Regions from separate parts of the Homo sapiens genome. Here all the other regions are linked to region 1. Evidence: promoter capture Hi-C in 16 types of primary human blood cells and fetal thymus (Javierre and others, 2016). All regions are on one chromosome and are shown on one strand. Each heading gives the region's core, a stretch centred on a gene start or on the middle of the fragment in contact. The rest is flanking DNA. Distances are from core to core; before and after follow the strand shown.

Region 1 (3,340 bases), core at 793-3,292:
GATATGGTTATCCCTTATAAATATTGATTTTGCATTCCCTAAGTGATTAGGGAGGGCTTTAATAGTGTTTCTATGGCTTCTGAAATATATGAGAACAAAACAATTTGTGCTAGAACTTTTTCTGGATGTGCGTAAGTCCACACTCTATGCATTGCTGGATTTCAGTCTTAATAGGTAATTAATTGTGTGACATCATCATTGTGTACCCTCTGAGTAACTCTAAAGAAATATGTTTGTTCTTTAGGAAACCTATTAAATATCCCATAGTGCAACGTTAGAAATGACCTCTGGAACTGACTGCAGAAACTGCACAGCAGTTAGTAGAGCTTGGTGTTCCGACGCAGATCTGGTGAGAGGCCTGCGCAGGAAGAGACTCGACATGGAGCAGGTGTGACTAGCGATAGTGATTTAATGGATTTGGGCCCGACATGGTGGCTCACGCCTGTAATCCCAGCACTTTGGGAGGCTGAGGCCGGCGAATCTCTTAAGCCCAGGAGTTTGAAACCAGCCTGGACAATATTGTGAGATCCCATCTCAATTTTTTTTTTGAGATGGAGTCTCGCTCTGTCGCCCAGGCTGGAGTGCAATGGAACGATCTCGGCTCACTGCAACCTCCGCCTCCCGGGTTCAAGCGATTCTCCTGCCTCAGCCTCCCGAGTAGCTGGGATTACAGGCGCACGCCACTACGCTTGGCTAATTTTTGTATTTTTAGTAGAAATGGGGTTTCACCATGTTGACCAGGCTGGTTTCAAACTCCTGACCTCAAGTGATCCGCCCACCTCAGCCTCCCAAAATGCTGGGATTACCGGCATGAGCCACTGTGCTCGGCTGAAAAAAACCATATTTTTAATTTAAAATAATAAATGGGTCTGACCAGAAATGCCTGCCTCAAATTGCAGGACACATGACAAAGCCCATTCTTACTTAAGACATTTTCAGTGTGCGATGGGTCTACCGGGATGTAACCCCATCGTGAGTCGAGGCCCATCTGCACCCTGCTATAGCTACTGGTAGATCTTACCTGTTTCCCAAAAAGGACCCAACTACTTTAGGTTCAAGGCACTTTTTTGGAATATTTAACAGGGAAAGAGCCTGGAACTAAAAACAGGTCTAACGCAAGATGCCGCCACACGATGGCACTGCTTCCGTAGACCTGGAAGAAACGCGGGCGCGGGAGCTGGCGGCGGACGCCCGGGTCTGCGGGGTCGGGGAGTAGCGTCCGGCCGGAGAGCCCGCACCTCGAGGAGCCGGCGGAGGACGCGGTGTCGTGACCGCGTCTCCCCCATCTGCTCTGCTTTTGGCGACAGCGTCCCGTCGGCCTTTCGGCCAGGACGCAGCAGCCGCGTCTCTGGGCCTCGACCCCCAGGGCCGGCCGGACCCGGGACCTCCGAGGAGAGCAGCGAGAACCGGCCCGGATTCCCCGAGGCGCCCGAGTGCGGTGCGGGCAGCCCTCCCCGCCTGCCAGGCCGCCGCTGTCCCCACGTCTGGTCCCCCACGCCTCTTCCCGCATCTGGTCCCACGGTGGAGGCGCGGGGCGAGGGCCTCACGCGCGTGCCCACGGTCGGGGGGCGTCCTTGGACGCGCGGGTCCTCTCCCACGGGTCTCCACCCCCCGCCCTCCGGCGACAGGAGCCGGCCTGGGACGCGCGCGCTGCGGCCAAGTCCTGGTTTTGATTTCACTCCCAACCCCGAGGAGCGAGGAGGTTCCAAGCCCACAAACAGGAAGAAGAGAAGGCCCTGGAGTGCTGGCAGAGGGAGTGTCATTCCCAGCAGCGCAGCGCAGGCCGGCCCGGGCCGGGGAGGGAGCAGCAGCGCGGGCACCCTCCTGCAACGTGGGCTGGGGGTCCCCAGGGCCGGGGAGGGGGCCCCGGGGAGGAACTGAGAGGGGGCGCGCCCCGGGAAGGCTCGGGGCGGCTCCGGGGGGCTCCCAGGGCGCCCCCGCCCCTTCCCCCGCGGCCCCGGGGCGCCCCCGCGGTGCCGGAGTCGGGGCGGGGCGTGCACGTCAGCCGGGGCTAGAAAAGGCGGCGGGGCTGGGCCCAGCGAGGTGACAGCCTCGCTTGGACGCAGAGCCCGGCCCGACGCCGCCATGAGCGCCGCGCTCTTCAGCCTGGACGGCCCGGCGCGCGGCGCGCCCTGGCCTGCGGAGCCTGCGCCCTTCTACGAACCGGGCCGGGCGGGCAAGCCGGGCCGCGGGGCCGAGCCAGGGGCCCTAGGCGAGCCAGGCGCCGCCGCCCCCGCCATGTACGACGACGAGAGCGCCATCGACTTCAGCGCCTACATCGACTCCATGGCCGCCGTGCCCACCCTGGAGCTGTGCCACGACGAGCTCTTCGCCGACCTCTTCAACAGCAATCACAAGGCGGGCGGCGCGGGGCCCCTGGAGCTTCTTCCCGGCGGCCCCGCGCGCCCCTTGGGCCCGGGCCCTGCCGCTCCCCGCCTGCTCAAGCGCGAGCCCGACTGGGGCGACGGCGACGCGCCCGGCTCGCTGTTGCCCGCGCAGGTGGCCGCGTGCGCACAGACCGTGGTGAGCTTGGCGGCCGCAGGGCAGCCCACCCCGCCCACGTCGCCGGAGCCGCCGCGCAGCAGCCCCAGGCAGACCCCCGCGCCCGGCCCCGCCCGGGAGAAGAGCGCCGGCAAGAGGGGCCCGGACCGCGGCAGCCCCGAGTACCGGCAGCGGCGCGAGCGCAACAACATCGCCGTGCGCAAGAGCCGCGACAAGGCCAAGCGGCGCAACCAGGAGATGCAGCAGAAGTTGGTGGAGCTGTCGGCTGAGAACGAGAAGCTGCACCAGCGCGTGGAGCAGCTCACGCGGGACCTGGCCGGCCTCCGGCAGTTCTTCAAGCAGCTGCCCAGCCCGCCCTTCCTGCCGGCCGCCGGGACAGCAGACTGCCGGTAACGCGCGGCCGGGGCGGGAGAGACTCAGCAACGACCCATACCTCAGACCCGACGGCCCGGAGCGGAGCGCGCCCTGCCCTGGCGCAGCCAGAGCCGCCGGGTGCCCGCTGCAGTTTCTTGGGACATAGGAGCGCAAAGAAGCTACAGCCTGGACTTACCACCACTAAACTGCGAGAGAAGCTAAACGTGTTTATTTTCCCTTAAATTATTTTTGTAATGGTAGCTTTTTCTACATCTTACTCCTGTTGATGCAGCTAAGGTACATTTGTAAAAAGAAAAAAAACCAGACTTTTCAGACAAACCCTTTGTATTGTAGATAAGAGGAAAAGACTGAGCATGCTCACTTTTTTATATTAATTTTTACAGTATTTGTAAGAATAAAGCAGCATTTGAAATCGCCCCTGCTTCCTATATTCGCAGTGACTCCCGCCCGCCCGCCGGTGGCG
Region 2 (3,288 bases), core at 483-2,982, 330 kb after region 1:
TCAACTACTAACATAACTATAATTTCAAGAAAAATTAAGATCAGTTGTTAATTACCACTATAGCTACATGCTATATCGGGTATCAATGTATTATCTCATAAGTTTATTATCTTGTTACCAATTCATTAATCATTTCACTACATTACCTTTATTCAAATAATATCCCTTTGAGACTGAAAGAACAGATATCAGTACCCACTGCACAGATGATAAAACCAGAATTTAGAGAGAGGTTAAGAAACTTCTCCAGCATTACGTAACTAACCAGATGAGGAACTAGCTGTTAAAACCAGAATGGACTTAGTGCAGCACGTGGCATTTAGTAAACCTTCAAAAAATGCCCATGATTGGTGTAACTGTTTTTGTTATGTTTTTCACTTGCAGCCTATATACAGATCTTTCCATTATGATGGAAATATTTTAATAAATACATAATATTGCTAGTATTAATACCTATAGAGACACCTAGTATGTTTTCCTATAGGTTACTATTTCTGAATATACTTGCGTGTAGTACATGTAACAGAAAAAAAGTTAAAACCTCTTATGCTCAGAAATATGCCATAGCACCTCTACATGTCAACCTCTACTTCCTATTAAGCCCTTCTTCATATCATTCTGTTTACATGAAGTAACTCGTTTATGCTTCCCCTTTACACAACACCGTGAAGTAGGTACTATTATTATTCCACTTTATAGATGACAAACTGAGGCACCAAGATGTTAAACATCTGTCCAAGGTGAAATGTCTAATGAGTGGTGTAGCTGGATGCACGCCTAGGCAGTCTGGTTCCAGAGTTCAAACTCTTAGTCTTGATAATATACCTAGCACCTCTTAAACAGTATTATTTAAAATGATATGCACAATAAATACAAGAAGCAAATGCTGTATTCTTTGCCCAACTATCTAGAACATTATTTGCCAAATGTTGCTTTTCAATGCTGTGACCTTACAGAAAAAAAAAAAAAAAGGCAAAATGAACTCTGAAAAAACTATCTGGTTAAAGTCAAGCCTAGAACCTCGTAAGAAAACTGTGCAGATTACAGGATGAAAGGTAAAAGCAACAGTAAACATGCACAGGCGCTCTCTACACACAGCAGTATCTGGAGCCCTCAGAAAAAATCTGCATCTCACCTGAGTTTGGCCATTAGGGCCTGTTATGCAGGGAATTCCAGTCACATGCACTTGAACTTAAGAACTTGAGCTTAGGAAACACCATGTCCTCTAATCAACAATCCTATTTCTAGTAAAAACATATCTCATGTTAAAAAAAATTAAGTCATACCAAAAGTTCAGGAAGGCCCTGCCATCTATATCCAAATTAACTCTTTTGAACGTAGCCAGATAAGTTATTTATAAAGGCCAAACTCCGATGGAATAAAAATATGATGAATTCACTCAGCAAGTTAAGATATCCTAATTATCTTTTCTATAAAATTAACAGACTGGTAACCTATCTCAAAAGATGACTGGTATCAATTTGACATTGGTAAACATTTCTATAAAAACAATATGGAGAAGTAAAGAAGGATAAAGATTCAAAAATATTCCAACTGATTTACAGTCAAAATATTTTTAATAAGCTATACAACCAGGTAAAGAATAAACAATTAAAATGACTGTAAATACAATATTTTAAAATTTTGGTTTATTTTTATTATACTTTAAGTTCTGGAATACATGTGCACAATGTGCAGGTTTGTTAAATATACATATATATATACACACACACATATATACACACACACACACACACACACACACACACACGTGCCATGTTGGTGTGCTGCACCCGTTAACTCGTCATCTACATTAGGTATTTCTCCTAATGCTATCCCTCCCCCATCCCCCCACCACATGACAGGCCCCGGTGTGTGATGTTCCCCTTCCTGTGTCCAAGTGATCTCACCGTTCAACTCCTACATATGAGTGAGAACATGCGGTGTCTGGTTCTCCTTCCCTGCGACAGTTTCCTCAGAATGATGGTTTCCAGCTTCATCCATGTCCCTAACAAAGGACATGAACTCATCCTTTCTTACAGCTGCATAGCACTCCATGGAGTATATGTGCCATATTTTCTTAATCCACTCTATCACTGAAGGACATTTGGGCTGGTTCCAAGTCTTGGCTATTGTGAATAGTGCCACAATAAACATACGTGTCAATGTGTCTTTATAGCAGCATGATTTATAATCTTTTGGGTATATATCCAGTAATAGGATTGCTGGGTCAAATGGTATTTCTAGTTCTAGATCCTTGAGGAATCGCCACACTGTCTTCCACAATGGTTGAACCAGTTTACAGTCCCACCAACAGTGTAAAAGTGTTCCTATTTCTCTCCACATCCTCTCCAGCACCCGTTGTTTCCTGACTTTTTAATGATCGCCATTCTAACTGGTGTGACATGGTATCTCATTGTGGTTTTGATTTGCATTTCTCTGATGGCCAGTGATGATGAGCATTTTTTCATGTGTCTATTGGCTGCATAAATGTCCTCCCTTGAGAACTGTCTGTTCATATCCCTTGCCCACTTTTTGATTGGGTTGTTTGATTCTTTCTTGTAAATTTGTTTAAGTTCTTTATAGATTCTGGATATTAGCCCTTTGTCAGATGGGTAGACTGCAAAAATTTTCTCCCATTTTGTAGGTTGCCTGTTCACTCTGATGGTAGTTTCTTTTGCTGTGCAGAAGCTCTTTAGTTTAATTAGATCCCACTTGTCAATTTTGGCTTTTGTTGCCATTGCTTTTGGTGTTTTAGACATAAAGTCCTTGCCCTTGCCTATGGCCTGAATGGTATTGCCTAGGTTTTCTTCTAGGGTTTTTAAGATTTAGGTTTAACATTTAATGCTTTAATCCATCTTGAATTAATTTTTGTATAAGGTGTAAGGAAGGGATCCAGTTTCAGCTTTCTACATATGGCTGGCCAGTTTTCCCAGCACCATTTATTAAATAGGGAATCCTTTCCCCATTTCTTCTTTCTGTCAGGTTTGTCAAGGATCAGATGGTTTTAGATGTGTGGTATTATTTTCAAAGGCTCTGTTTTGTTCCATTGGTCTGTATCTCTGTTTTGGTACCAGTACCATGCTGCTTTGCTTACTGTAGCTTTGTAGTATAGTTTGAAGTCAGGTAGCGTGATGCCTCCAGCTTTGTTCTTTTGGCTTAGGATTGTCTTGGCAATGCGGCTCTTTTTGGTTCCATATGAACTTTGAAGTATTTTTTTCCAATTCTGTGAAGAAAGTCATTGGTAGCTTGATGGGGATGGCATTGAATCTATAAATTACCTTGGGT
Region 3 (3,047 bases), core at 309-2,808, 310 kb after region 1:
CACTTTACTAACCTGTCCCGATTTTCTCTCTCTGCTTGTCATCCATCTAGTCCACTAAAAGAGAAGGTCTAAGGGTGCAGTGACCAGATCTTGCTTATTCACAGTGTATCTTTAGAGCCCAGCAAGGAGCCTGGCACACTGGAGGCCCCTGCTGAGCAACTGCTGAGTAAATGAATGTGACCTGCCAGCTTGGTACCTGTGACCCTCACTTCCCACTATCCCATCTCCACCACCAGATATAGTGACCAGTAAAGCATTTACTTCACACAACAAGAATAAACACAGAAATATGAGCATATATAAAATTTTCATCTGGATGATTGAAAAACACTGAGAATATTACTTGGTTGCTTACCCTCTATAATACAATTTAAATAAGAATCATTTTTTTAAATTAGCTAACGGAAGTGATCTTAAATTTCAAAAATAAAGTATCTTGCTTAAGAATAGGCAGTTAAAGTCTGGGCAAGGTGGTTAATGTCTGTAATTCTAGCACTTTGGGAGGCCGAGGCAGGCTCTACTAAAAATACAAAAATTACCCAGGGGTGGTGGCAGGCGCCTGTAATCCCAGCATACTCAGAAGGCACAAAAATTGTCTGGACCCAGGAGGCGGAGGTTACAGTGAGCCAAGGCTGCGCCACTGCACTCCAGCCTGCACAACAGAGCAAGACCTTTCCCTTTCCCCCAAAAAATTTCATCATGAAAAATAATTTATCTGAAGCCCATCAATTTCTTTGTTATCACTGGTTCTTCTTTTTTCTTTACTCTCTTCCTGTATAACAAAGAAGGTTTTTTGCATTTAAGAACATCTAAGGGTCCGGGTATGGTGGCTAACGCCTGTAATTCCAATTCATTGGGAGACTGAGAAGGGAGGTTCCCTTGAGGCCAAGAGTTCGAGACCAGCCTGGAAAACATAGGAAGACTCCATTTCTGTAGAGAAAAAAAAGAAATTTTTTTTTAAACAGCTGGGTGTGGTGGCATGTGACTGTAGTCCCAGCCACTCTGGAGGTTGAGGTAGCAGGAGCCCTTGAGCCCAGGCGGTTAAGGCTGCAGTGAATTGTGATGGTGCCACTGTACTCATGCCTGGGCAACAGAGGGAGACCCTACTCAAAAAAATAAAAGAACATTTGTAACTACTTTTAGTTTTAAAAACTATGATATCAAACATATTGTGAAAAAAATTGTCACCCTGTTACTAAACAGAGATCAAACAACGGAGCCAGGGTGCAACCACTGCTGCACTCACATCTCCTGAACTCAGTTCTGCCCAGACCTGCCCCTAAAACAAGTAGGCTATGAACATGGGCCACCAAGTTAGGCTGCCCAATGTAAATCTGGCTCTGCTACCCACTGGCAGGCACACAAGGCTGTACCCATCCATATTCTCCTGTGTCTGCATTGTCCTCATCTCTAAAATAAGGAGAGCAGGACCTAACTGGAAGGGTAATTGTGATTAATATACATGCAAAATGCTTTGAGTATCACTTAGTAATCACTGTTCACCATCATGCAGATAATGAGCAAAGCAATGTTGGAAACTGTTTCCTCTTTTAAAAAAAGAAAAATACAATGATTCGTGAAGATAAATAGAACGTATTTTCCCCTTGCCTCTATAGCTGTCCATTCTCTATGCCACAGCTACATTTTAAAGTGCAGGTTTCCAAGGCACTACCTTGGAAGTGAAACCCAGCCAAGGCCTCCAGGCCCTGCATGATCTGGGCTCCCCTGCCCACCCCATGCCATTTCATCAAACTGCATTCTCTGCAAGGCCTTTGGGTGCAACATCTGTGCTTTTTGCTGCTCTTTTATTTTTTTATTTTTATTTTTTTTTCAGACAGGGTCTTGCTCTGTTGCCCAGATAGCAGTGCAGTGGCGTGATCTCGGCTCACAAAAACCTCTGCCTCCCAGGTTCAAGTGATTCTCATGCCTCAGCTTCCAGAATAGCTGGGATTGTAGGCGTGAACCACCACACCTGGCTAGTTTTTCTGTATTTTTAGTACTTTTTCGCCATATTGGTGAGACTGGTCTCAAACTCCTGGCCTCAAGTGATCACCTGCCTCAGCCTCCCAAAGTGCTGGGATTACAGACATGAGCCACTGTGCCTGGCTCTTGCTGCTCTATTTTTTTTTTTTTTTTGAGACAGAGTCTCGCTCTGTTACCTAGTCTGGAGTGTGGTGGCGTAATCTCGGCTCACTGAAACTTCCACCTCCCAGTTCAAGCGATTCTCCTGTAACAGCCTCCCGAGTAGCTGGGATTACAGGAGCCCACAACATGCCAATTTTTGCATTTTTAGAAGAGACGGGGTTTCACCATGTTGGCCAGGCTGGTCTCGAACTCCTGACCTTGTGATCCACCCACTTCGGCTTCCCAAATTGCTGGGATTATAAGCATGAGACACCACACCCGGCCTTTGGCTGTTCTTTTAAAGTCAAACTCAATACCTTCTCAGTGTATCACAAAGAATCTTGAGATATATGTCTTTTATACTGAAATGTACTAGAAGCCACCAACAAGGAAGATAACATTGATTCTTAAAAGTTACAAGTAGGAGTTATAAAACAGCCCAGCAAAGTCAGCTACTCAGGAGGGAACAAAGGAAAAACTGACATCCACATACCAAAGATGTTAAAAAAAAATTTCTTAAGCCTAGAAAGATGTATTAGAATTCACTGCAGAGGGGTGGAGCCAAGATGGCCCAACAGGAACAGCTCCAGTCTACATCTCCCAGCGTGAGCGACACAAAAGACATATGATTTCTGCATTTCCAACTGAGGTACCGGGTTCACCTCACTGGGGATGGTCAGACAGTGGGTGCAGGACAGTGGCTGCAGCACAAAGAGCGTGAGCCGAAGCAGGGCGAGACATCGCCTCACCCGGGAAGCACAAGGGGTCAGGGAATTCCCTTTCCTAGCTAAGGAAAGGGGTGACAGATGGCACCTGGAAAATCGGGTCACTCCCACCCTAATACTGCGCTTTTCCAATGGTCTTAGCAAATGGCACACCAGGAGATTGTATCCCGCACGTGGCTCGGAGGGTCCTACGCCCAC
Region 4 (3,151 bases), core at 60-2,559, 360 kb after region 1:
AATTAAAGCTCTTGATTCTAAAATTTATAGAAAGGTCACACCAAGAGCAATAATGGAATATCACTAATAAATTATCACATCCTTATTTTAAAATTACACCTTTGTAGCTAAATGCTACCCAGCTGGTAGAACAAAGGGAGGATGGTAACTAAACTAATATCATTATTTGAGATAACCAATCATAAGAAATAAAACTTCACTTGACTCATATTTCATGCAAAAACAAAAGTCTCAAGTCTTTGGTCTTGGCCAACATGCAAAGGCGTGCCACGGGGCGGCTCTGTGAGGACACCTTGTGCGCCTGGTGCCACGTGGGGCAGGTCCAGCTGAGCCCAGACTCGCAGGCCAGGTGAGCTGCCCATGCCACTTCCTGCCAATCGCTGGTTTCTGCTCTCTGAGGCCTCCCACCCAATTACTGACCAGGCCCAGACCTGCCCGAATAGGATCTTCTGAGAACACCCAGAGCAGTGTTATGCCAAGTTCACCCTGCCTATCCTGAGTTCAGCCTCCCTTTCTTAAAGTCACACTACAAACGAGCACAGTCAGTAGCACCATAAGGAAAGAACAAAGAGTCAGAAGGCCCTGGCTGCCTAGAAGCTTTTAAATCCCATACAAACCACTGTTTTAAGGAGGTTGGATGGTAAGAGCAACAACAAAAATGCTACAGAAGATACACCATGGCAAGTAAAATAATCAAAACCAAGACTGCTCTTCACACTGAGGGGAATGAAAGAGTACTGGTGGCTGACAGGTCAATAGATTTGGTTATCATATGCCTGCGTTTCCACTCTCACTTCTAAAATGAAATTTATTCATGTAACACATTAACTGAGTGCCTGTGTATCAGGAATCATTCTGGGTACAATGGGTACAGAGGGAGGGAAGGAGGGAGGGACCCAAAGTCTTTATCCACAGGTCTATTACCCCAGTGCAGCCATGGCACACATACACACATTAATTCATGTAGAATGCTCTCTGTTTACGCGTTAAGAACTTCACTGGTTGTGTGGAAAAGAACAGCAAAACAACACAAAATAAAGAGTATATTGGACTCCCAGTTGCTAACAAAATTTTATTTTCTATTGAATTAAAACCAATAAAGCAACACCAATTCCAGACAATAGAAAGGCTTAAGCCACCAATAAGAGATCTCCTTTCACTGTTTACATGGTGTGCTTTTTGTGACTGAAACTTTATCCGTGAAAATCAGCCAGCTAGTGAGAGGCAAAACAAAAGCTACAGGTTTTCTCATACATTCAAGGAAAAAAATATTTTCTGAGGTAAACAGGTTTAACAAGCTACACCCATAGTTACACCTCTGAAAACCACCTGGCTTGCCTTCCTTAAACTAGATACATGTTTCCAACCTCAGCTGCAGCTCAGTGAGAAGGAGAGAACTTAACTCAAACCTATGGACTGGCTTACAGAAGCCCCCTCCACCTATCGTCAGCCTGGCACCTGCTCTGAGGAGCCCAAGGAGAAATGACAGACAGCGGGGCAAGAGGGGAGGGGAATCACGAGGCTCAAGAAAGGCACCTGCCGGGTCAAAGTTCACCAAGCAGGAGTGGAGGGTGGAGAAGGCGGCAGTGACCAGGGCCAGGGGGCTCCACAGCAAACAGCAGGCCCCGCCCAGCAACACGGTCCTCCGAGGTCCTGACGCACCTTGTCTGCAGTGATCACAGATGAAAAGTACCCCCTTCTCCAAAAAAAAATAGTGTACACCTGTGGAATTCTGACACAAACTGTGATACGACCTGTCTGGCCATTCTGTGTGTTTTAAAACCTGCTCAGTGAGTGTGAGTCCTGAGCTGCTGCAAGGGAGCCTTCTGCCAGGCCCAGGCAGGGGCAGCACGCGTTGCTGTGGTGCAGGCTGAGAGGTCATCGACTCAGACCTACACTCAAAACCTGGGCCTCAAAATTAGTAGAAACAAACACGATGGCATGTTTTAAAAATAAATCTGTTCACTTATGCCCCTGGACCCAAGGCAAGACAGGTTGCTTCTGGTTATGAGCCAAGCTTTATTTTTATTCAAGGCAAAGAATTAAAATGCTACACAATGGGTGGGGAAAATGGAAGAAATTGAGAGAGAAGTCCTGAGAAGGTAGCAAATTTCAGAGGAATCAAGCCAGGTGAGTGTTCTAGGATAACAAAAGCAATAAAGAAAAGCAAAAGCAGTAACCAGTGAGTGGACAGCCCTGAGCTGTGGGCCCAGGGGGTGCTCCTCACCCAGAAGCTCCACAAGGAGCAAAGGCAACAGGGATCAAGGGGACACAGAGCTCCGCAGGCACATGGGCTTGAATACACTCAGGTGAATAAAGTTAAACAGGCCTTGTCATAGGCCCCAGAAACCTTGAATATGCTTGTGTGCACTGTGCCCTCTACGAGGAGTCTGCAGTAAGTAGTCTTTCCTAAACTCCTTTAGCCACAATTTAACCAGTGTTTCACTGTACCTCATGGAGCTGAATTCTCTAAAATCTTATATTTTAATCATTTTAATGAAAAGCTCTTGCAAGTGAAGTTTTCCATGATTTCTTCTTTCACCCAATTCACCCAGGCTGGAGGGCAGTGATGCTATCTTGGCTCACTACAACCTCCGCCTCCCAGGTGTACCACAGCCTCCCGAGTAGCTGGAACTGCAGGTGTGCACCACCACACCTGGCTAATTTTTGTATTTTTTGTGGAGATGGGGTTTCATCATGCTGCCCAGGCTGGTCCCAAACTCCTGGACTCAAGCCATCCGCCCACTCCTAAAGTGCTAGGATTACAGGCGTGAGCCACCAAGCCCAGCCTCTTCTAACTTCTTATTATATGTTGAATATAGGCGAATAATCTCATGACAGCCCACAGGCATTCCTGTGGAAAGCCATTATTTTGGACTCTGAGGTAGTGCAGTTCTGCTTCCCGGCTGGGCTTCCTTCCCTCTGGCTACATGTAGGCTGCTCTGCTCGCTGGCCCCACTCCTAGGGTGCCGGATACTGCCCTAACAGCCTTTTCTGGCTGATGCCAAAGCCACGAGCCCCTTCCAGTTTGCCTTGGGTTTAGGGGCCAGATAACAGCAAGACTCAATGTGGACACTAGGAGGACTATAAAGATGAATAAAATATAGGTTCTGCTCTTTAGAGATTTACATCTGGCTACTTGTTCACAATT
Region 5 (3,078 bases), core at 2-2,501, 260 kb after region 1:
AACAGAAGGGAAGTACGTACTTCAGGTACAAATACCCACTGACCACGCTCAACATGTGCTGTATATAACCTGTAAACTGAGTCCTCACATGAAAACTGACAGATGCTAAGACATGAAGAACCATGCCAAAATGTGTTATTTACTCCAAATAGAACAATACATGAAAAATGTTGGCTTTAGTCTACATTAAAAGTGATATTATCAACTATTTGCAATTGAAGGCAGATCACTACCTTACCTAAAATGCAGCTGAATATTTTAAGAACAAAGGGCAGAGACTAAGAACTCCACTATCTCCAGAGAGTTCCCTTCAATGACTTCAAGTGGTCCTTTCTAGTCTTTTTTAAAACTCAATTATGTAGAGTCAACCTTGTCAATCATATAATCAGCTTGGTCACTCACATGGGCTGGTCTCCCACAATTGTTTTCCTACCTCCAAGTTCTTTTTTTTCCTTTGTATTCATTCTGTCCATAGTCATTAAATACACATTGAACACAAACACTGAAGTGGCCAGAAATACAGTGGTAAGCAAAACAGGCAGTGCCCTGATGGAGCCTCCCAGGTTCAGGCGATTCTCCTGCCTCAGACTCCAGAGTAGCTGGGATTACAGGCATGTGCCACCCTGCCTTGCTAATTTTTCTATCTTTTTTTAGTAGAGACGGAGTTTCTCCATGTTGGCCAGGCTGGTCTCGAACTCCTGGCCTCAAGTGATCTGCCCACCTCGGCCTCCCAATGTGCTGGAATTACAGGCATGAGCCAACGCATCTGGCCAACCATCAATCTTGGAACTTAGAGCTGCATTACAACTCTCAGTTTTTCACTTAACATTATATATACAAATGTCCAATTATATATCTCTTTCCCCAGATCTCTCTCATACAATACAAAACCTAAACAGAATGTAATGACGAGAAAAGACCATTACACCTTATAGCAGTCATAACACTGTGATAGTGACCAAGAAGTCAGTCAGAAGACAGCAGCACCTCACATATATTCAACAGTAACATCACAAAGATAGCATTAGAGCGGTGATTCCTGTGCTGTCTTTCAAGAAAGAGCCTTCACCTTTTCTGCCATTACCACCATCACTATTCAACAATCTCATCATGGCAGCTGGCTTTGCCAATTATCTTGAACTAACTTTTCAATGTCTCTTTTTGCTTTCATAACAAAGAGTGGTTGCTTTTATCAACATTCCATAAGGTCCAGCAAGGTTAATAAAATTACCATTAAAGCCTCTGAAGTTTGTACAATGACAAATCAAACCCATTCCCAATGTAGGGCTTAATCATTATAAAGGAATGAAGAAACCTCTCATAGGGCCTCAGGAATAGATGCTGAGACCCTTCCTGCTCACTTGGCTCATCTGGACAGGAAGGAGAAGATGCTGTGCCTTTTCCAGACTCTCAGCTGTGCCTCATATAAACTCTGAAATCCAAGTCAGGCCACATGGGAGCACACAGGCTGTGCGCCGATCCCTGAGAGCAGCGAGAACACTTGATCCCAGATTGTACACTTTCAGTTTATATGAACGAAGCTGTTCACCATTCTGACATTTGACGTCATCCACCAACTACCCACTAACACTATCTATTAGTGCAGAATGCTTGGAATTTCCTCATTTTTAAGAGCTGGAAAGTTTCAAGTACAGACCTTACATTTTAACAAAATAGTACATGCTATTACTTTCAGGGATTTAGGACCTTTCCTCCTGGATTACTCAATTAGGACATACTCATCTAATCAAATACTTAACCCACACATTAAGAGACAAACATGTTTGTATCTAAGATATAGCTTTTAAACAATTCCATGAACACTGTAGGGTAACATTTTAAATCAGGTAACTGCTTAATTGCTTTCCTCCTAATCTTCTACTTTAGACATTAAATCCATCTTGCCTTTTCTTTATATTCACCTCTAAATCTTCAGTGCCCAGCACAGTATTCAACTGTGGCCAGGCTGGTCTCGAACTTAGGCAGGCTCTCATGAGTAGTGGATGGATACATTTTTCTTCATTAGGTAGACTTTAAACAGGAAAATACTGGTAAAATAGGTGAAGAAGTTCTCCAAGATATTATTTTACTTTTTCTTTCACCCTGAGCCTCAAATGAGATGAATTCACCTTTTTTGGCTGGTGGTCAAATCTTTTTACTGTGATTCATTTAAAGCTCAAAACATCATGAGGCACAAACTAAGAGAAACTGGATGCTAAACACTGAAGAAGCTATTGTAGTTCTCACAGCACTATGGACTTGAACTGTTAGTGTTCCTAGCTGCTGTTCAGTTCTTGGGCACAAGCTATTCTGCTTTCTAAAACTGATAAGCCTTACTTCCCCAAACTTACAGTTCTATTAGTCTACAAGAACTTTCCACTAGAATGTGTAGCAAATTCCTTTCTGACAAGTTGCCCTGAGCCCCTCCCTTCCTGGTCTGAAAAGAGCAGGCTGGCTTCAGGCCACTCCCCAGCCCCTGCTCATGGCTGCTTTACCACCTGAAGGAGAACCTCAGCCACAGGATCAGGTGCAGCTCTCCCTGCATTCCCCCCTACTGCCCCACTTTACTTGGGGAGTGGAATTCCGCTGTGGGCTGTGCTGCTAAGCTCACCACAGGAGCCTGTTTATGACCTTGAGACAGAAGTTGTACCTGCTATGGGAGTCAGAGCAGGGGAAACCTTCTCTTATAAGATACTTTCCAGCAAAGTAAGACAGAATTGTGCTCCACATGTCTTTCTTTTCTTTCCTTTCTTTCTTTTTTTTTTTTTTTGAGAGAGTCTCACTCTGTTGCCCAGGCTGGAGTGCACTGGTGCAATCTCGGCTCACTGCAGCCTCCGCCTCCCAGGTTCAAGCAATTCTCCTGCTTCAGCCTCCTGAGTAGCTGGGATTACAGGCGCCCACCACCACTCCAGCTAATTTTCTGTATTTTTAGTAGAGACAGGGTTTTACCATGTTGGCCAGGCTGATCTCGAACTCCTGGCCTCAAGTGATCTGCCTGCCTCAGTCTCTCAGTGTTGGAATTACAGGCGTGAGCCACTGCACCCCGCCCCACATCCCTTTCTTTAAATTTTTTTTTTC
Region 6 (3,082 bases), core at 293-2,792, 300 kb after region 1:
CCAGGAGTGTCAAAAGATTTAAATGTAAAAATTTTTAAATCGATGAAAGTCTTAGAATAAAACATAGAATAACTTTTACACCTCATAGTAAGGAAAACCTTTCTATCTATGATACAAAACCCAGAAGCTATAAAAGATGGCTAAAATCAACCACAGAAAAACAGAAAAGTTCTGCTCATCAAAAACAAAGCAACAAAACAAACCCCTGCCCCCTAAAAACGTAAAAAGTCAAATGGTAAATGGGGAACGAACTAACTGCAATGTATATGACTGACAAGGCACTACTTTTTTTTTTAATCATTTATAAAAAGATGGTAGAAATCACCAGGACCAAAGTGACCAAAGAGAAGAAAGGTCAAAAGCTATCAATGGACATAAAATGAAATTCAAGTGGTTCTTAAAAACATGTAGAAAAATGCCTAAGCCCATTTTATATAAGAGAAATATGAATTAAAATGATAAACATCATATTTCCAATTTTTAACTTGGTCTAGATCAACAAAGTAGGTTTGTAAAGGAGAAGAAAAAGGCACTTCAGGCATTGCCAGTGGGAACGTAAAATGGTGCCATTTGACAAAGTCTGCTAAAATTAAAGAAGCACTGATCCAGCAATAATATTTATAAAAATTTATCCTATAGCCCTTCCTCATACATACAAAATGAAAACTTATAAAAAATTACGAAAAAATTAATAATTAGCTCTTAAAACAAGGCTGCTCAAACTTTTCCTCAAAAGTAGTATGATTTTCTTCTATTCATGGTAAAAATCAATATCCCACTGCAAAAGACAGCACACATAGTATCCTTTAAAATAATTTCTGATCCAATAATGACCATTTTTGCTCCTGCAATTCAAACACTAGTATATCTTAATTCATGCTTTTTATCCTCCCAAGTGACTAAGAAATATTTAATTAATGTGTGTTATCCTACTGTCACATAATGCCTGTTAACAAAATTATTTTTCTAAGAAATATAAAAACAAAAACAGCCAGATCTTATAACACATCACTTGGGCAAGAGTCTTAATATGGTTGTTTCCTCAACCCTCTCACCCCAAATTATCAGAAATATGCTGACAGAACTAGAAATGAGCTATCAGAGACAATCCAGTGCTTCTCTGACAGAAAACCCACGTCCAATCCTGGCTCTCTTCCTCTCGCATTGCTCTATGATAAAGTGACAAAAATGTAACTGATAAAAATGTCTTTTCTTACGAGGCTGACTCACAGTTGGTGACTGCTGGATTAAGTTCTGCGCACTCACCAGGGAGGGAAGATCCGGACAGTGTCCTGGGGACGGCCCCTGAGGTAGCCTGCAGTCTCCTTGGTGAAGAGAACTTTCAGGCCAGCTCCAGGCCTGGGAGCCACACTTTGGGAGGAGCTGGTGGCTGGTGACCCCAATAACTGCTCACACATGGCAACTTGCATGGCACATTCCTCATGCAGCTCTAAAATTTTCACAGTTAATACACCAGATTTTCTACCTAGAAGTTGAAGAAAAGAACAAAGCAAAAATGAAATCAAAAGACAGATGGTTCAAGCGTGAATAAAGTGTCATGAAAAAAAGATCCACATGCAGATAGCACTCTTCACCTGGAGAAAATGGTCTCCACATTTTGCAAAGTAAAACAGAGACACTACGATGCTCACTATAACACTTTTCTTTAATCAAAATAGGCCTGCATGTTGCATTTAATACATGGATTTTAAGCAGCATAAAATAAAGTCTTCTGTCATGAAGAAATAGTCCTGTACAAATAGAAACCTTAGACCCGTCATTTTAAGGAGCATGCGTTTTACTCCAAGTCTGAAATCCTTTGATGACCACAAGGAGAATATGGCCACTGTGGATTCTTCTTAAGGATGGACCCTCCTCTTTATTATCTGTTTTGATTCTCTGCTTTGAAATCATGTATGTTACTAGCTGGCTGCAGCTGTTCCAATGATCAGAAAGGCTAACAGTTGAAGAGTTATGTGGACTGCTGGGTATTAGAGCTCTAGATTGAAATGGGTGGAATTTGATCTGGATTCAAGTGCTGGTTTCCTTATTAAGTTGGCCAAGTTCCATGGCATTCAACTGTTAAATTGTCTTATGTGTAAAATGGAGATCCTGCCACCTGCCCCAGGAAACATTTGTTCAGATTAAATGAGATAACTGAAGTTGATAGTGTGCATAGCCTATACCCCAGAAATCTTAGGTAGGTACCCAGAAACTGTCAGATGCACCAATATACCTAAACAAGGATACACATCTCAGCGTTGTTTATAAGAGTAGAAAACTGCACCCAGCATAAATCAGAAAGATGGGTAAACCATGGTGTGTTCATACAACAGAACACTGTACGGCACTTAAAATGAGGTGAAGTAGACGTCTAAGAATCAGATGGAGAGGTCTCAAGAAATGAAAGGGGATAAACAGGATATACAGAGTATGACACCTATAATGTAATTTTAAAAAACACAGAAATCAATACAATAGTTTATGAATACAAGATGAGTATAAAAACATAAATAGAAGGATTCACAGAAAAGTCATGAAAGCCACTGTCTCTAAGGAGAGAGAAAGAGGAGTATGACTCAGGAGGGGAACCCAGAGGGTTTCAAATTTATGTGTCATATTGTTTCTATTATAAAACTATGGGAAACTAAAAAAAGACAAAGGATTGACATGTGTTACTAATTCTAGGCAGTGAGCATGCTTATGTGTTTCTATTATTCTCTGTGCTTTTTAATTAAAAAAAATAAAAAAATACATAAACTGAGAACAACAAAAATGAAGGGTACAACATACTGCCTTGTTAATAACAGATACTCACTAATATGAGTTTCTTTACCACTTCAGCCAACTAGGTTAATAGTGAATAGTAAAAATTAATATTTAGACGGTGCTAAGATTTTAATCATCTATTTCTTTCTCCCTCTCACTTTTTTTTCATTCATTTCCCATTCAACCCCAAATTTTTCATCCCTTCCTTTATGTAGGTGTCCATGACACATGTCCATATACTGGGCCCTGGGCCACCTTGCCTCCCCTAAGCACTGTCTTGGACAACTATTTCTTAAGGCAACTATTTCTGGGC
Region 7 (3,469 bases), core at 883-3,382, 280 kb after region 1:
ACGGTTCACATTACAGGACTCTGTGCAGACAACCCTCGGTACTAGTCGAGGGCTTGGCAGCCCTGCTGAATGGCTAGATCCAGAAGAGAAATAATAATCACTACAGCTTGGCTCTCAGGAAGCCACATCCCTAGGAAAAGGCAGAGAGTACTACATCAAGGGAACATCCTGTGGGACAAAAGAATCTGAACACTAGCCCTGAGTGCCAGATCTTCCCTCTGACATAGCCTACGCAAAGAAGAAGAAACCAGAAAAACAATTCCGGTAATATGACAAAACAAGGTGCTTTAACACCCCCCAAAAATCACACCAGCTCACCAGGAAGGGATCCAAACCAAGAAGAAATCTCTGATTTACCTAAAAAAGAATTCATAATACCAATTATTATGCGAATCAAGGAGGCATCAGAGAAAGATAAAGTCCAATTTAAGGAAATAAAAAAAAAGATACAAGAAATGAGGGGAGAAATCTTCAGTGAAATAGCATAAATTAAAAAAAAATCACAACTTCAGGAAATAAAACAGTGAAATGCAAAATGTTCTGGGAAGTCTCAGCAATAAAACTGAACAAGCAGAAGAAACAACCTCAGAGCTCAAAGACAAGGTTTTTGAATTAACTCAATCCATCAAAGAGAAAGAAAAAATAATTAAAAAACAAACAGGCTGGGCGCAGTGGCTCACACCTATAATCCCAGCACTTTGGGAGGTGAAGGTGGGCAGATCACGAGGTCAAGAGATCGAGACCATCTTGGTCAACATGGTGAAAACCCATCTCTACTAGAAATACAAAAATTAGCTGGACCTGGTGGCAGGTGCCTGTAGTCCCAGATACCTGGGAGGCTGAGGCAGGAGAATCGCTTGAATCCGGGAGTGAGCCGAGATTGTGCCACTGCACTCCAGCCTGGTGACAGAGCGAGACTCCATCTAAAACAAAGAACAAAGCCTCCAAGAAGTTTGGGATTCTGTTAAATGACCAAACCTAAGAATAACTGGTGTTCCTGAGGAAGAAGAAAAATCTAAACATTTGTAAAACATATTTGGGGAAATAATTGAGAAAAACTTCCCTGGCCTTGCTAGAGATCTAGACATCCAAATACAAGAACGAACATCTGGGAAATTCATCACAAAAGATCATTGCCTAGGCATACTGTCATCAGGTTATCTAAGTCAAAATGAAGAATCTTAAGAGCTGTGAGGCAAAAGCACCAGGTAACCTAAAAAGAAAAACTGATCAGATTAACAGCAGATTTCTCAGCAGACACCCTACAAGTTAGAAGGGATTGGGGCCCTATCTTCAGCCTCCTTAAACAAAACAATTATCAGCCAAGAACTTTGTATCAAGTGAAACTAAGCTTCATAAATGAAGGAAAGATACAGTCTTTATCAGAAAAACAAATGCTGAGAGAATTCGCCACTACCAAGCCAGCACTATGAGAACTGCTAAATGGAGGTCTAAATCTTGAAACAAATCCTGGAAACACATGAAAGCAGAACCTCTTTAAAGCATAAGTCTCACAGGACCTATAAAACAAAAATATAATAATTAAAAAAGCCACCAAGGTATACAGCCAACAAATAGCATGATGAATGAAACAGTACCTCACATCTCAATACTAATGTTGAGTGTAAATGGCTTAAATGCTCCACTTAAAAGAAACAGAATAGCAGAATGGATAAGAAGTATCTGCTGCTTTCAAGAGACTTACCTAACACATAAGGACTCAGATAAACTTAAGGTAAAGGGGTGTAAAAAGACAGCCCACGCAAATGAACACCAAAACTGAGCAGGAGTAGCTATTTTTATAACAGACAAAACAAACTTTAAAGCAACAGCAGTTAAAAAGGACAGAAAAAAATAGCAAAAACCACAATTACTTTTGCACCAACCTAATATAAAAGGCCTTGTCCAAAACGAAAATATCACAATCCTAAATATTCTATGCACCTAACACTGGAGCTCCTAAATTTATAAAACAATTACTACTAGACATAAGTAACGAGATAGACAGCAACAAAAATAATAGTGGAGGACTTCAACACTCCACTGATAGGACTAGACAGGTCATCAAGACAGAAAGTCAACAAACAAACAATGGATTTAAACTATGCCCTGGAACAAATGGACTTAACATATTTACAAAATATTCTACCCAACAAACACAGAATATACATTCTATTCATCAGTGTATGGAACTTTCTCCAAGATAGACCATATGATAGGCCACAAAACAAGTCACAATCAATTTAAGAAAACTGAAATTATATCAAGTACTCTTTCAGACCACAGTGGAATAAAAATGGAAATCAACTCCAAAAGGAACCTTCAAAACCATGCAAATACATGGAAATTAAATAACCTGCTCCTGAATGATTACTGGGTCAACAGTGAAATCAAGATGGAAATTAAAAAATTATTCAAACTGAAAGATAATAGTGACACAACCTATCAAAAGCCCTGGGAGACGGCAAAGGTGGTGGTAAGAGGAAACTTCATAGCCTTAAATGCCCACAACAAAAAGTCTGAAACAGTACAAACAGACAATCTAAGGAACTAGAGAAACACCTCAAGGAACTAGAGAAACAACAACAAACCAAACCCAAACCAGCAGAAGAAAGGAAATAACCAAGATCAAAACAGAACTAAATGAAATTGAAACAAAAAAAATACAAACGATAAATGAAACAAAAAGCTGGTTCTTTGAAAAGATAAACTGACAGATCATTAGCAAGATTAACCAAGAAAAGGAGAGAGAAGATCCAAATAAGCTCAATTAGAAAAGAAATGGGAGATATCAAGACTGACACCACAGAAATACAAAAGATTATCTAAGGCTACTATAAACACCTTTATGCACATCAACTAGAAAACCTAGAGGATGCTGAATAAATTCCTGGAAAGATACAGGAAGCTTAAATCAGGAAGAATTAGAAACCCTGAACAGACCAATAAAAAGCAGCGAGGTTGAAACGGTAATAAAAGAATTACCAAGAAAAAAAACTTCCAGGACCAGACAGATTCACAGCTGAATTCTACCAGACATTCAAAGAACTGGTACCAATCCTATTGACACTATTACACAAGATAGAGAAAGAGGCAATCCTCCCTAAATCATTCTATGAAGCCAGGATCACCCTAATAACAAAACCAGGAAAGCACATAAGACATGCAAAAAAACTACAGACCAATAACCCTGATGAAAACAGAAGCAAAAACCCTTAACAAAATACTAGCTAACCGCATCCAACTATCAAAAAGACAATCCACCATGATCAAGTGTGTTTCATACCAGGGATGCAGGGACAATTTAACATATGCAAATCAATAAATGTGATACACCACATAAAAAGAATTAAAAACAAAAATCACATGACCACCTCAACAGACACAGTTTAAATAAAGCATTTCACAAAAGCTGGCATCCCTCAAAATCTGGCATCCCTTTTTGATTAAAATCCTCAGCAAAATCAGC

The links. Contacts are between HindIII fragments. The CHiCAGO score rates a contact against its expected background, and 5 or more counts as called.
Region 2: a contact is called between a fragment that was not itself captured here and the fragment with the promoter of CEBPD in region 1, in 3 of 17 cell types (monocytes, neutrophils and M1 macrophages). The highest score is 11.4, in monocytes.
Region 3: a fragment that was not itself captured here is called in contact with the fragment with the promoter of CEBPD in region 1 in 3 of 17 cell types (neutrophils, M2 macrophages and M1 macrophages); the score reaches 8.9 in neutrophils.
Region 4: a fragment that was not itself captured here is called in contact with the fragment with the promoter of CEBPD in region 1 in 4 of 17 cell types (monocytes, M1 macrophages, M0 macrophages and 1 more); the score reaches 11.8 in monocytes.
Region 5: a contact is called between a fragment that was not itself captured here and the fragment with the promoter of CEBPD in region 1, in 1 of 17 cell types (monocytes). The highest score is 5.4, in monocytes.
Region 6: a fragment that was not itself captured here is called in contact with the fragment with the promoter of CEBPD in region 1 in 5 of 17 cell types (monocytes, neutrophils, M2 macrophages and 2 more); the score reaches 11.9 in monocytes.
Region 7: a fragment that was not itself captured here is called in contact with the fragment with the promoter of CEBPD in region 1 in 1 of 17 cell types (neutrophils); the score reaches 6.4 in neutrophils.

The regions. Positions count from the first base shown.
Region 1 is chr8:47,736,866-47,740,205 of GRCh38, reverse strand. CEBPD (CCAAT enhancer binding protein delta) reads left to right here and starts at 2,042. Exons shown (of 1, transcript NM_005195.4): 1 at 2,042-3,293. The coding sequence starts at 2,086. The coding sequence ends at 2,895. RefSeq lists silencers at 1,214-1,683, 1,774-1,853, 1,894-2,003, 2,494-2,683 and an enhancer at 2,080-3,018. The HindIII fragment of the contact is 19,422 bases long and covers 1-3,340 here.
Region 2 is chr8:47,403,775-47,407,062 of GRCh38, reverse strand. All of the region lies in intron 6 of SPIDR (scaffold protein involved in DNA repair), which reads right to left. Among named protein-coding and RNA genes, the nearest start is that of SPIDR, 140 kb to the right of the region's middle. The HindIII fragment of the contact is 4,676 bases long and covers 1-3,288 here.
Region 3 is chr8:47,422,386-47,425,432 of GRCh38, reverse strand. The region is part of intron 7 of SPIDR (scaffold protein involved in DNA repair); the gene reads right to left. Among named protein-coding and RNA genes, the nearest start is that of SPIDR, 160 kb to the right of the region's middle. The HindIII fragment of the contact is 6,012 bases long and covers 1-3,047 here.
Region 4 is chr8:47,378,907-47,382,057 of GRCh38, reverse strand. The region is part of intron 5 of SPIDR (scaffold protein involved in DNA repair); the gene reads right to left. All of the region lies in intron 1 of LOC107986940 (a long non-coding RNA gene), which reads left to right. Among named protein-coding and RNA genes, the nearest start is that of SPIDR, 120 kb to the right of the region's middle. RefSeq lists enhancers at 1-322, 323-859. The HindIII fragment of the contact is 1,420 bases long and covers 600-2,019 here.
Region 5 is chr8:47,479,049-47,482,126 of GRCh38, reverse strand. The region is part of intron 8 of SPIDR (scaffold protein involved in DNA repair); the gene reads right to left. Among named protein-coding and RNA genes, the nearest start is that of SPIDR, 220 kb to the right of the region's middle. The HindIII fragment of the contact is 9,555 bases long and covers 1-3,078 here.
Region 6 is chr8:47,438,727-47,441,808 of GRCh38, reverse strand. SPIDR (scaffold protein involved in DNA repair) reads right to left here. Exons shown (of 20, transcript NM_001080394.4): 8 at 1,267-1,486. Among named protein-coding and RNA genes, the nearest start is that of SPIDR, 180 kb to the right of the region's middle. The HindIII fragment of the contact is 3,630 bases long and covers 1-3,082 here.
Region 7 is chr8:47,458,801-47,462,269 of GRCh38, reverse strand. The region is part of intron 8 of SPIDR (scaffold protein involved in DNA repair); the gene reads right to left. Among named protein-coding and RNA genes, the nearest start is that of SPIDR, 200 kb to the right of the region's middle. The HindIII fragment of the contact is 1,557 bases long and covers 1,354-2,910 here.